Linked DNA regions of Homo sapiens: all the other regions are linked to region 2. Evidence: promoter capture Hi-C in 16 types of primary human blood cells and fetal thymus (Javierre and others, 2016). All regions are on one chromosome and are shown on one strand. Each heading gives the region's core, a stretch centred on a gene start or on the middle of the fragment in contact. The rest is flanking DNA. Distances are from core to core; before and after follow the strand shown.

What was found. Contacts are between HindIII fragments. The CHiCAGO score rates a contact against its expected background, and 5 or more counts as called.
Region 1: a fragment that was not itself captured here is called in contact with the fragment with the promoter of EBPL in region 2 in 6 of 17 cell types (naive CD8 T cells, naive B cells, naive CD4 T cells and 3 more); the score reaches 8.0 in naive CD8 T cells.
Region 3: a fragment that was not itself captured here is called in contact with the fragment with the promoter of EBPL in region 2 in 1 of 17 cell types (total B cells); the score reaches 6.6 in total B cells.

The regions. Positions count from the first base shown.
Region 1 is chr13:50,912,650-50,916,397 of GRCh38, reverse strand. The region is part of intron 1 of RNASEH2B (ribonuclease H2 subunit B); the gene reads right to left. Among named protein-coding and RNA genes, the nearest start is that of RNASEH2B-AS1, 3.8 kb to the right of the region's middle. RefSeq lists an enhancer at 1,406-1,495. The HindIII fragment of the contact is 765 bases long and covers 1,296-2,060 here.
Region 2 is chr13:49,690,078-49,694,094 of GRCh38, reverse strand. EBPL (EBP like) reads left to right here and starts at 2,609. Exons shown (of 4, transcript NM_032565.5): 1 at 2,609-2,841. The coding sequence starts at 2,671. RefSeq lists silencers at 2,484-2,683, 2,714-2,853 and an enhancer at 2,317-3,314. The HindIII fragment of the contact is 12,052 bases long and covers 1-4,017 here.
Region 3 is chr13:50,937,135-50,941,073 of GRCh38, reverse strand. All of the region lies in intron 5 of RNASEH2B (ribonuclease H2 subunit B), which reads right to left. Among named protein-coding and RNA genes, the nearest start is that of RNASEH2B-AS1, 28 kb to the right of the region's middle. The HindIII fragment of the contact is 6,799 bases long and covers 1-3,939 here.

The sequences.
Region 1 (3,748 bases), core at 429-2,928, 1.2 Mb before region 2:
TAAGAGGAAAAAAACAGCCCCTACCTCTATTAAATCAACTGAACTTTCTCCAATTTTATGTAGAACAGCACCATATAAACTTTTATGTAACCCCAATCTCCCTGAGTGTTTTAGTGTTACATTAAATAAGTAGTAAGGGTAAACAATGAAATAAAGGCAAAAATAGAAAAATAAGAAAAAAAAATTTAAGAAGATTGGAATTCATTTTGTAATGTAAACAACATGAAAAAACTGGAAAGAAATATCTCCAAAATTTTTATTTTGGGTGAGGATGATGGACAAATTATTTTATTCTTTATTTTTTTCCCCATATTACTAGAATTTCTATACTGGGTAAATATTATTATTCTAATTATTTAAAGTTATCAAAAAAAAAAACCACTGTGAGAAAAACGTGTAAATGTAGAGTTAACTGGTCAAAAGAAGGTTAAAAGGCAACAACAATAACAAAAAATCTTTAAAAACAATCAGGCAAAGGTAGCCAATCATGCAGGAGAGCCTTACCAAATGTTGAGACCTAGGCCCTCGGAGGAGTAAGCCAGCCTCCAGCTTAGCTGTTTCGGGGACAGATAATGAAACAGGGACTAGAACATGCAGCCCCAAATCCCTTACATCCCCTTGCCACGGGGTGGCCCATTCTGCTTTAGCAAACAGTCATCCTTAGACAAGGAAGTCATAAAGGTAGCTCTGAATAAAGGCCTGGAAATCCTACGTGACATGCTCTACTGTTTGGAGGTTGTGCTCTGAAGCAGAAGGCTGAGGTGCCCACACTGAGAAGCGAAATGGCCACTCAGGGAAAACACACTTGGACTCTCTCTAGCTCCTGGCATGTATTAGGTGTTCAATACATATTTATATAAAAATGGCACTTAAATGAATAATCATGATGAAATGTGTAGGTGGTCAAAGAGGTACCACGAACCTGGGCAGTAACAAGAGGAGAGACCCATGGGAAGGCTTCCTGGTAGAGGTGATACTTGAGCTGGGTTTAAAGGATAAGTAGGAATTTGCCAGGTAGATAAAGTGAAGAGCAGGCAGGATTCCAGGCAGACACAAAGTCAAGACGGAGAAGCTGAGCTGGAGCAAATGGCTTAGCTTTGTGGAAAATAAAGTTGAATGGAACCTTGAGGAAAGGGTAGAATTTGGATAGAAGTAGAAGGGGAGGAAAAAGCAGAATAAGCAAAGACATTGCAGGAAGAAATGGAATGTGAGACTTTTATTCGTTCAGTAAATATTTATTGAAATATCTACTCTGTCCCAGGCCCAGGGCTAAAAGCTTGAGGTGTAAGAAAGCTTATGAGTAACTCAAACCACAGATAACAACCCCATGAGACTGGTACTCTTCTCCCCACTGTGGAGATGACAAAAGTGAGGCTTTATAGTGAGGAAGTAAACCACCCAATGACACAGAGCTAATAAATAGCATAAATCTAGCTTTTAAGTCTGTGTTATTATAGCCAGGCTTTGGAGCACACTGACTGAGTTGTTTGTTTTTTAAAATCACAGTCTCAGAGGATGTGGGAGAATCCATGCAGTCCCTATTCTGTTACTCAAATAAAAAATCATGAACACTGCTTGCTTTCCTTTTATGAATTTTTTTCTGACCTGGAGGATAAATATGTGGGAGTCATGAGTTCTTACTTATAAATGTCCCAAGTATTTTGGAACAGTTACTAAAGGGACAAGATCAGACTCTGGAAACAGCCTGATTACACCAACTGGCAACTGAAGTCCATCCACTTCAGAACGTGCTCAGATAGATAGCAAGGGGAGCAGATCCAGTGGCCATCTGAGAAAGGTCAGTCGGGTCCCACCGAAAAACATTTTGCAAAAACAAAGCCAGACTGAGATTCATGTGGAAAATGTTAAACACGCTCTATGCTGGAAAACTCTGAGACTCCTACACTGCTGACTGCCTGCAGTAGACTATTCGGTAAATGACACATCTTCCAAAAAGCTGAGCTTAATTATTCCGAGGTTGTCTAAAATCAGCACTTGAATTGGCCAGGTTCTCTATCATGTGCCAAGTGAAGTTCATCTCTTCTGAAAATAAGGAAGCTTTCGGCCCTCACGTATATTTCTAAACACAAACATATACATACATACCGTTTTGACAAAGAACAAAAATCCTGCTTAACTTTTTCTTCTGAGATTAACCATGAGCCATTAGGTAAAGAAGGGAAAAGAGTGTTTTTTAGTGTCACTGAAAAGTCAGTTAAATCTATAGTAGTTCTTCCTTTGCCATACACTTTAAACCTTTACTTTTTTTCCTCCCCCAAAACAAGAGGCATTTCTTTGGACTTATAAAAAGCTACAATTATGCCAGTTGGTGGACCAAAAAAAAAAAAAAAAAATCTTCAAGACTGTAATCAGAAATAACATTAATATAAATTTTCTCCATCATTAAATAAGAAAATTAGTTTTTCCTTTTAAATTTATTTTTTAAATCCTTTAATTAGAACATAGTTCTAATGCATGAATTTATACAATCCTTCCACATCTATTTTTGCATTCCAATTGGAAAGATAGCTCTGGTATAATCATTTGTGATTATCACGATGCCTCACATAAAAAGCTGTTATTGTATTTGAAATGTCTAAGGTAGACAGGGATTCTTATCTCCCAAAAAGCAACCCATCCTCTACCTCCATGAAACTGCTTTCTGTGGAGAAATAAATAATAAGTGCAATCTTTCCTAAAATACTTTTTAACATGTATATTCATGAAATAAAGGGGGATAACTTTATTGCAAAACTTGTCTCTAACTGAAAATTCGAGTTGAGGTGCAGTTTCACCTCAGGACTGTTTAATCAGGGGGCTGATTAAGGAATATTTTAATCAGCCTAAGTGAACCCAAATGAGTTTTGTTTTAACAGGCCTGAAATGATTTTTCTTCTTTTTTTTTTTTTCAATACACAATGTTAGGGTTTCCCAATTAACATTTCCTTGGAGATGAACCCAATTAATTGTTCAGCCCCCAACAGCAATAAATGCAGTCTTCTAAACGCAATGAATCAGGTGACCTCTCACACCTGGGTACATCCCAACTTAGTAGCATTAACAAGAAAAATGGACTTAAGAAAAACATTAAAAATATGACTCAAACATTTACTTTTAGGGCAGAAAAAGAGGGATGGAAACTTATACTACTTTCCAAAAAGTAAAGTAATGGCCTCTTATAGAAATTAAAACTGCAAACAGGCTAGTATTCCCAGGCCATTTTACAGAAACATTTAAGACCATCCCAAACTAAAAGAAATGCTTGCCTTGCTGAAATGGGAAATGGTTCTGTCTTCACCAGCCTATGAAAACCAACGTCCCAAGTCTGCATATCTCACAGTATCTCTTCCAAGTTCCAGATTTGTTTATCTGAGATAGCCAGCTTCTCCAAACAAACTGAAAACTAGAGGCAAAGATACCTAAATCAAACATTTAAATATATCCTTCAAGATATAACACAGTGCTGTGGCAGGCAACTCGATGAACAGCATGAATTAAATGTTGGAAAAAAGTATCATTGCAAGGTTAGGCATCTTTACCCTTGTCTCACGGATAAATCCCTTTAAAGTTCTGTTGGCCTGTGGGTTCATGTGCTCACTTTTCAGTACACAAAGTAAGTTCTTCAGATCCCAAGTTTTCTAAAACCGAATACAAGCCGCCTCCGCCAAATACTTTTGAAAAATGTTTAATAATCTTTGTTTTCTTTATTAAGGGCCCAGCTTTACTGGAGTATGGTGCTCCCTCAGCC
Region 2 (4,017 bases), core at 1,360-3,859:
CTGGAGTCCAGAGAATAGGACCAGGCTAGAGATTTGAGTTCTCTGCAGGTTTTGCTGGTCATTAAAGCAGAGGGTAAGGATGAGACTGCCTGGATTTGGGGTCTGGAGTGAGAACAGGGCCGAGGACTGGGTTGTGGAGCTGCAGCATTCACTAGGCATTTGTAGTGGAAGATGCACTTGCAAAGGAAACAGAATGGCTAAGGAGGCTGTATTCTCAGAAAACCAAAGGAAAAATATTTCAGTGCTGGGATGCTGCTGAGAAGTAAACTACACTAAGAAAATGAACTGTTCTTGGGGTTCAGTGATGTGGAGGCCAGTAGTCACCTTAGTGAGAGCTATATCAGTGTGATAAGGCAGAAACCAGAGTAGAAAGGACTGAGGAGCAGGGTCAAGACATGAAGACAGGGGATCTGATCAGTTTTTTCATTAAGTTTCTATTTTGCTCTGAAGGGGAGGTGGGCCGAGTGGTCCCTAAAGGATGATAAGTTAGTTACAGGACAGGATCCAGAGCATAGGTGGCTAGATTGACCATACTCAGTCGCCAGTTATTTAACTGAGCAGCTAATATATGCCAAACTCTGTAATAGGTGCCAGGGATACAGCAATAAAAAAGCTAGCCACAACCCCTGGCCTTGAAGACTTACATTATAGTGGCAGGAGATTAGCAATAAGTGTGTAAACAAGGATCATTCTATCTGGTGTTAACTGCTATAAAAAATGGTATAGGAAGTGACTAAGGGAAAAATTTCTTGTGTTCAGTGCCAGCATTTTTTTTAATAACTGTAAAATACACATAAAATTTGCCATCTTAACCATTTTTAAGTGTGCAGCTCAGTAAAGTATGTTCACGTTGTTGTGCAACCAATCTCCAGAACATCATCTTGCAAATCAAACTATCCGAATAAATAACACTCCACTTTTCCCCGCGCCCCCCCCCCACTCCCGCCCCGCCCCACCCCTGGTAACCATCATTCTATTTTGTTTCTGCAAATTGATTATTTTAGATATTTCCTGTAAGTGGAATCATAAGTATGTTTTTGTGACTGGCTTATTTCACCGACCTCATAGGGTTGTTGTGATGTTAAATAATGTAGGTTTGTTCCCGGACCAAACTGGGGGTTGGGCAGCCCAATAATGAGGTGCAGATGAACTGGGGAAGAAGAGTTTTTATTTCTGCAACCGGTTACAGGGAGAAGGTCTGGAAATTATTGCCAGACCAACTCATAATTACAAAGTTTTTCCAGAGCGTATATACCTTCTAAGCTATATGTCTACGTGTAAGAGTGCATTCATCTAAAGACGTAAGTGATTAACAACTTCTAATCCTGAAGACCTTCCTCTGGAGCCTCAGTAAATTTACTTAATCTAAATAGGTCTGGGTGCTGGGATGATTACCCTTATTTTGTCTCTTGCTAAATCATGGAGGCTTGTGGAATTCCTCCAGACTCCCAATAAACTTGTTTTTGGAGGCCTGGGGAGTTTCTTCAGACCCCCAATAAAACTTGTTTAATCCTAAACGGGTCCTGTTAAAAATTCCTTAGTTATCTTGTCATGCTTCAAGGCCCAAGAAAGGCCTAGGCAAAACTCTTGGTGGGCTTTTGTTACATTCCAGACTTTGGTATATGGGCACTGACTCTTTCAGCTTTTAATTTTTTTTTTGTTTTTTGAGACGGAGTCTCGCTCTGTTGCCCAGGCTGGAGTGCAGTGGCGCGATCTCGGCTCACTGCAAGCTCCGCCTCCCGGGTTCACGCCATTCTCCTGCCTCAGCCTCCGGAGTAGCTGGGACTACAGGCGCCCGTCACCACGCCCGGCTAATTTTTTGTATTTTTAGTAGAGACGTGGTTTCGCCGTGTTAGCCAGGATGGTCTCGATTTCCTGACCTCGTGATCCGCCCGCCTTGGCAAAAAGTGCTGGGATTACAGGCGTGAGCCACCGCGCCCGGCCTCAGCTTTTAATATTTAATTTAACCACTCAGTGCTGAAGCAGTTGTGATGGAGGCCTGCGATAGTGAAACCTGGCCTGCCACAGGTTAAACGCATCTATCGCCAAGCCAATAGGACTTACCGCTCCTCTCACCCACCCTTCTACTTTTCTGGATTTTTAAGAAATGGAAAGATTGTCAGAGTAGGCCATAAAGGCTTTAAGCCGGCTGGTGGCTGAAAACTCCCTTGGCCCCCAGCCTCCCTGGTAAGGCTTGCTGCAGCCTAATTAAAACCTTTTGCCCCTAAAATTCTGCCCCGGTCTACTGGCAAAATTTCCACTACCTAGGCTTCACTTTGTGGCTTAAAGTTTGAGCCTTGTTAAAAGCGAAACAACATCAAAAGGTGTGGCCCTATTACCAATCCTTTGGGCTCGGTTTGGGAACAGGTTTGGTCGAGGCGGTTGCGCAAGTTGGTGAGCACGTTCCTTCTACGGAACCTCCATGGGCGGCACCTGGCAAAACCACCGGACTCAGCAGGCTGGCCAGGGTGCGAGGCGGGCACGGAATCCTCGCTCTGGCCCCGACCCGGCCGGGGAGCCCCGTCCCTCCCCGGACCGCCTTGGCCAATCAGCTCCGCTCCTCCTTGGCCATCCGGCTCCGCCCCTTCCCGGCCAGCCCCGCCCCGTCGTTTCTCTCCCTGCTTTCCTCTGCCGCATGGTCCTGGGCCGTTGGCGTCGGAAGCCTGAAGCATGGGCGCTGAGTGGGAGCTGGGGGCCGAGGCTGGCGGTTCGCTGCTGCTGTGCGCCGCGCTGCTGGCGGCGGGCTGCGCCCTGGGCCTGCGCCTGGGCCGCGGGCAGGGGGCGGCGGACCGCGGGGCGCTCATCTGGCTCTGCTACGACGCGCTGGTGCACTTCGCGCTGGTAAGTGCCATCGCCTAGACCCTGCACTCCCCATCCCAGAGAGTGGGAGCGGGGGCGGCAAGGCGGGGTGAGGGGGTCCTGCGGCTTTTTGCAGCGAGCTGGCCGCCCCTCCCCCTGCTGCAGGAAGTCTGTTAGCTGAGAGGCGCCTGGAGGCCGCGGCGGCCGGAGTTCTGATTCCCAGGTCTGTGAACAGAGCGCAGCTTACCTTGTGCTGCCGATTCCTCCACCAAACTTTAAAAAAATTCTGTACGTGCTATGTTAGTTTAGAAGATACCTCAGCTTCCTCGGCTTTGTAACCTGCACGTAACTGTTGAACTGGACATAATTGAGAGTAGAATTGAGGTCATTTTTAAATGCCCCAGAGGGGGCAAGGAGAGATGCTTGCTCCGGAGGCAGCAAGGCTATTGTCGCAAAACCCGAAGCCTTTGCCAAGACAAACGAAACACCCGTGTCTAATGTGTGCCAGGCGCATTACTGAGTTTAAAATTTCAGATCTTTACAGCATCCATAAATTAGTTATTATTGTTCCCCATTTTACAGAGGTGAAGGTAGGCGCTGCAAAATTAGGTGACTTTCCAGTGCCACACAGCTGGCATGATTCTGAGGCAGTCTAGTCTGGCTCCCAAGTTTGCACTCTGTGTATCAGTCGAGGTCTTAGGAAATATGTGTCCTTAGAGATTCAACCCATTTTATAAAATAGCCAGGAAGGTTGTGTTTAAGGCATTTATATTGAAATGCCCCGCCCCCCACCACACACGCGCACGCACACACACACACACACTTTTAAGTTTTTTTTAAACTATGCCCAAGTATCAGTTTGTTTTTTTTTTTTTTTGTAAAGTTGACCTTGTTTAACTCTAGACACACCTGTGGCTAATGTGAAGCCAAAGTCAGTAGTATTGAGAAAGCAAGCCGAGTTTTGGGTAATCATCGAGTTCTGTAAATGTTTACGGGTTGGCTTTGTGCCCATGACTGATGTTGCTGGAATTCTTTTTATTCTGATAATCAACATGTAGAGATAAGGGACAGTGAATGTTTCTCTCAACTCCTTTATTTATAGAATTCTTTTTTTTTTTTTTTGTCTTTTTTTTTGTTGTTGTTCTTGAGACAGAGTCTAACACTGTTGCCCAGGCTGGAGTGTAGTGGCACTATCTCGGCTCACTGCAACCTCCGCCC
Region 3 (3,939 bases), core at 23-2,522, 1.2 Mb before region 2:
GAATGATCAGAATGAATCTCAGAATCAATTAATAAACCATGATTTGTCCCCATCTTCGAAGACTGGCTCTGAGTGACATGAAGTAAACTCTCCTAAGTCACTGAGGAAGTAGGCAAGAGCACCCAACTCCCAACCATGCTGACATCAAAGCTGTGGATCTGATGTTCACTTTACCAAGATCACTAGGTCTGCACTTTCCTCAGTACCTCCTAACAACCTCTCCTCCATGGCATATATAAAATTGCTTTCTATTTTTTTATGTCTCTAATGACTTATCTGATTCTTTTCCCAGCTCTGCTTCACCCTCCTCCAAAGTCAACTGTATCCTTTCATCTGGTGTGATCTCCTCCTAGATCAACAAGACTAAACAAACTAACCGGGAGGCCCAAAGCCCTGAACTAAGCCTCCATGTGTCTAAAACCCAGTGGTTCATCTTCCTCCTACACCACTCTCCTGAATATCGAGGCCTAAACCTCAGAGCCAGTGCTCACACTGGCCTTGCCTCCCACATTCCATCTCTCCATCCCATGGGAGGTAGGAAGTATAGAGAGAAAAGGAGCCAATATTATTTTGGGGGAAAGGGGCAAGTAAAAATAAATACTGTGTTAGAAATCAGGAGGCTTAGCTTCTAGTGCTGGATCAGTAAATATTGTTTTAAAAATGAATTTTATTTAGGTGTTCACGCAATGTTCATGTTCACACAATGGACACACCCATTTTAAATGTACAAATCGAGGAGTTTGGAAAAATGTATGCAGTCATGTAAGCATCATCCCCCAAAGTTCCCTGGAACCCTTATGTAGTCAATTCTCCCATGGCTACCCAGATCACAGGTCACCACTCATCCATCATTATAGGGCAATTCTTGCTTTATTCTGGAACACCATAGAAATGAAATGATATAGTATATACTTTTTGTGTCCAATTTCTTTTGCTCAACATTATTTCTGTGAGATTCATCCATTTTGTTGCAGCTAGCAGTAGTTCCTTACTTTGTACCAGGGAGTAGTAGAATTCCTGAGTTGTAAGAAATTGTCAAGTGGCTATATCATTTTAAGCCGTGGACAGCCAGGTAGGTAAGTTCCAACTGTCCCACAACTCACAATCTCCTTTTTTCTTAATGGCATTTTTCAAAAACAAAAGAGAATACTTTTGATAAAATACAATTTATAATTTTTTTACAGTTAGTGGGTTTTGTGTCCTAAGAAATCTTTGCCTCCCAAGACAACAAGGATTTTATCCTATGCTTTCTTCTAGAAGCTCAATAATTTTCATTTTTGAATTTAACATAGTGATCCATTTTGAATTAATTTTTCTGTATGAGGTAAGAATCAACGTTATTTTTCATATGTATACCAAATTCTTCCATCAACATTTGTTGTAAAGACTATCCTTTTTCCCACTGAATTATCTTCACACTTTTGGAAAAAAAAAATCAATTGACCATATAAGTGTGGGTTTATTTCTAGATTCTCTATTCTATTCCATTTATCTATATATTTATCCTTATACCAACACCAAATTTATTTTATTTTTATTTATTTTTTAAATTTAGGGACAGGGTCTCACTCTGTTACCCAAATTGGAGTGCAATTGTGTGATCACAGTTCACTGTAACCCCGACCTCCTGGGCTCAAGTGATCTTTCCTCCTCAGCCTCCCAAATAGTTGGAACTATAGGCACATACCACCACAGCTGGCTAATTTTTTTTTCTTTTGAAACAGAGTCTCGCTCTGTCACCCAGGCTGGAGGGCAGTGGCGCGATCTTGGCTCACTGCAAGCTCTGCCTCCTGGGTTCATGCCATTCTCCTGCTTCAGCCTCCCGAGTAGCTGGGACTACAGGTGCCCACCACCACACCTGGCTAATGTTCTTTGTATTTTTTAGTAGAGACAGGGTTTCACCGTGTTAGCCAGGATGGTTTCGATCTCCTGACGTCATGATCCACCTGCGCTGGCCTCCCAAAGTGCTGGGATTACAGGCGTGAGCCACCGTGCCTGGCCCACAGCTGCCTAATTTTTAAACTTTCTGTAGAAATGGGGTTTTGCTACTTTGCTCAGGCTGTTCTCGAACTCTCAGCCTCAAGCAATCCTCCTGCTTCGGCCTCCCAAACCGCTAGGATTACAGGCATGAGTCATTGTGCCTGATCTCCACATTTTCTTGATTATAGTAAGTCTTTAATTCAGTTTGTGTAAGTTCTCCAAATTCTTCTTTTTCAAAATTGTTTTGAATATTATAGGTCCTTTACATCAGGGCTCCCCAGTCCCTAAGCCATGTACTGGTACCAATCCATGGCCTGTGAGGAACTGGGCCACACAGCAGGAATGAGTGTCAGGCAAGTGAGCATTACTGGCTGAGCTCTGCCTCCTGTCAGAACAGTGATGGCATTAGATTCTCATAGGAGTGCGAACCCTATTGTCAACTGCACATGCGAGGGATCTAGGTTGTGTGCTCCTTATGAGAATCGAATGCCTGATGATCTGAGGTGGAACAGTTTCACCCCAAAGCCATCCCCCTCCCTGCCCCATCCATGGAAAAATTGTCTTCCTCAAAACCAGTTCCTGCTGCCAAAATTAGGTTGGAGACTGCTGCTTCTGCTGCTTTACATAGTCATATAAATTCTAGAATCAGTTTATCAATACCTACCAAAAAAAAAGAAAAAAAAATGGAGCTGGCTAAGTATTACACTGAATCTATAATGTAATTATATAGTGTAATTATAGTGTAATTTGGGGAAAATAGATACCTTAAAAATATTGAGTCTTCCAATCCACAAACATGGCCTATTTCTCCATTTATTTAATTTTTCTTTAATTTCTCTCAGCAATATTTTGTAATGTTCAGCATATTGGTCTTGAACATATTGTGTTACATTTAGCACTAGAATGTTATTTTTAATGGTAGTATAAATGGTATGTTTTTATTCCATTATCCAATTGTTCAATGTCAGTATATAGAAACACAACTAATATTTGTATATTGAACTTGTATCCTGAAACTTTGCTTATCAATTCTAGTAACTTCTTTTGTAGATTCTTTTGGATTTTTTCATACATGACAATATTGTCTATGAATAAAGACAGTTGTACTACTGACTTTCCAATCTGTATGTCTTTTTCTTGTCTTATTGCACATGCTAGGACATCCACCACATGGTGAATAGAAGTGGTAAGAGCAGGCATCCTTCTCTTGTATCCAGTCTTGGGGGAAGATTGTGTTCAGTCTTTTACAATGAAGATGATGTTAGCTGTTTAAGTTTGCCATAGATGCCCTTGGAAGTTCCCTTTTATTCTTCATTTGCTGATAATATATATCATGACTGAATTTTATCAAATACCTTTTCTGTGTCTTTTGAGATAATCATACAATTTTGTAATGCATAAATATGGTAAATTATGGTAAATGCTCAACCAATTATGAATTCTTGCAATAAAGCCCGCTTAGGTTTTATATATTTAATTTTTAGATATTTGATTTTCCAATATCTTCTTAAGGATGAGGCATTTGAGAATCTTACGTATTTTTCCCCCCATTTAAAAATCTTTTTGAGAATGGGCATGGTGACTCACACCTATAATCTCGGCACTTTAGGAGGCTGAGGCGGGAGGTTCCCTTGAGCCCAGGAGTTCAAGACCAGCTTGGGTAACATAGAGAGACCCCCTCATCTCTCCAAAAAAAATGAAAAAATTAGCCAGGTGTGGTGGCTTGTGCCTGTGGTCTTAGCTACTCAGGAGGCTGAGGTAGGAAGATTGCTTGAGCCCCAGAGATTGAGGCTGCAGTGAGCCGTGATTGTGCCACTGCATTCCATCCTGGGCAACAGAGCAAGACCTTGTCTTAAAAAAATAAAAATAAAAAAATAAAAATAAAAATCTTTTTCTTTCTGTTTTTAAAACTTCCATTATTTTGAGATTCACAGGCTGCAGCTTATTAAGGGAAGAATT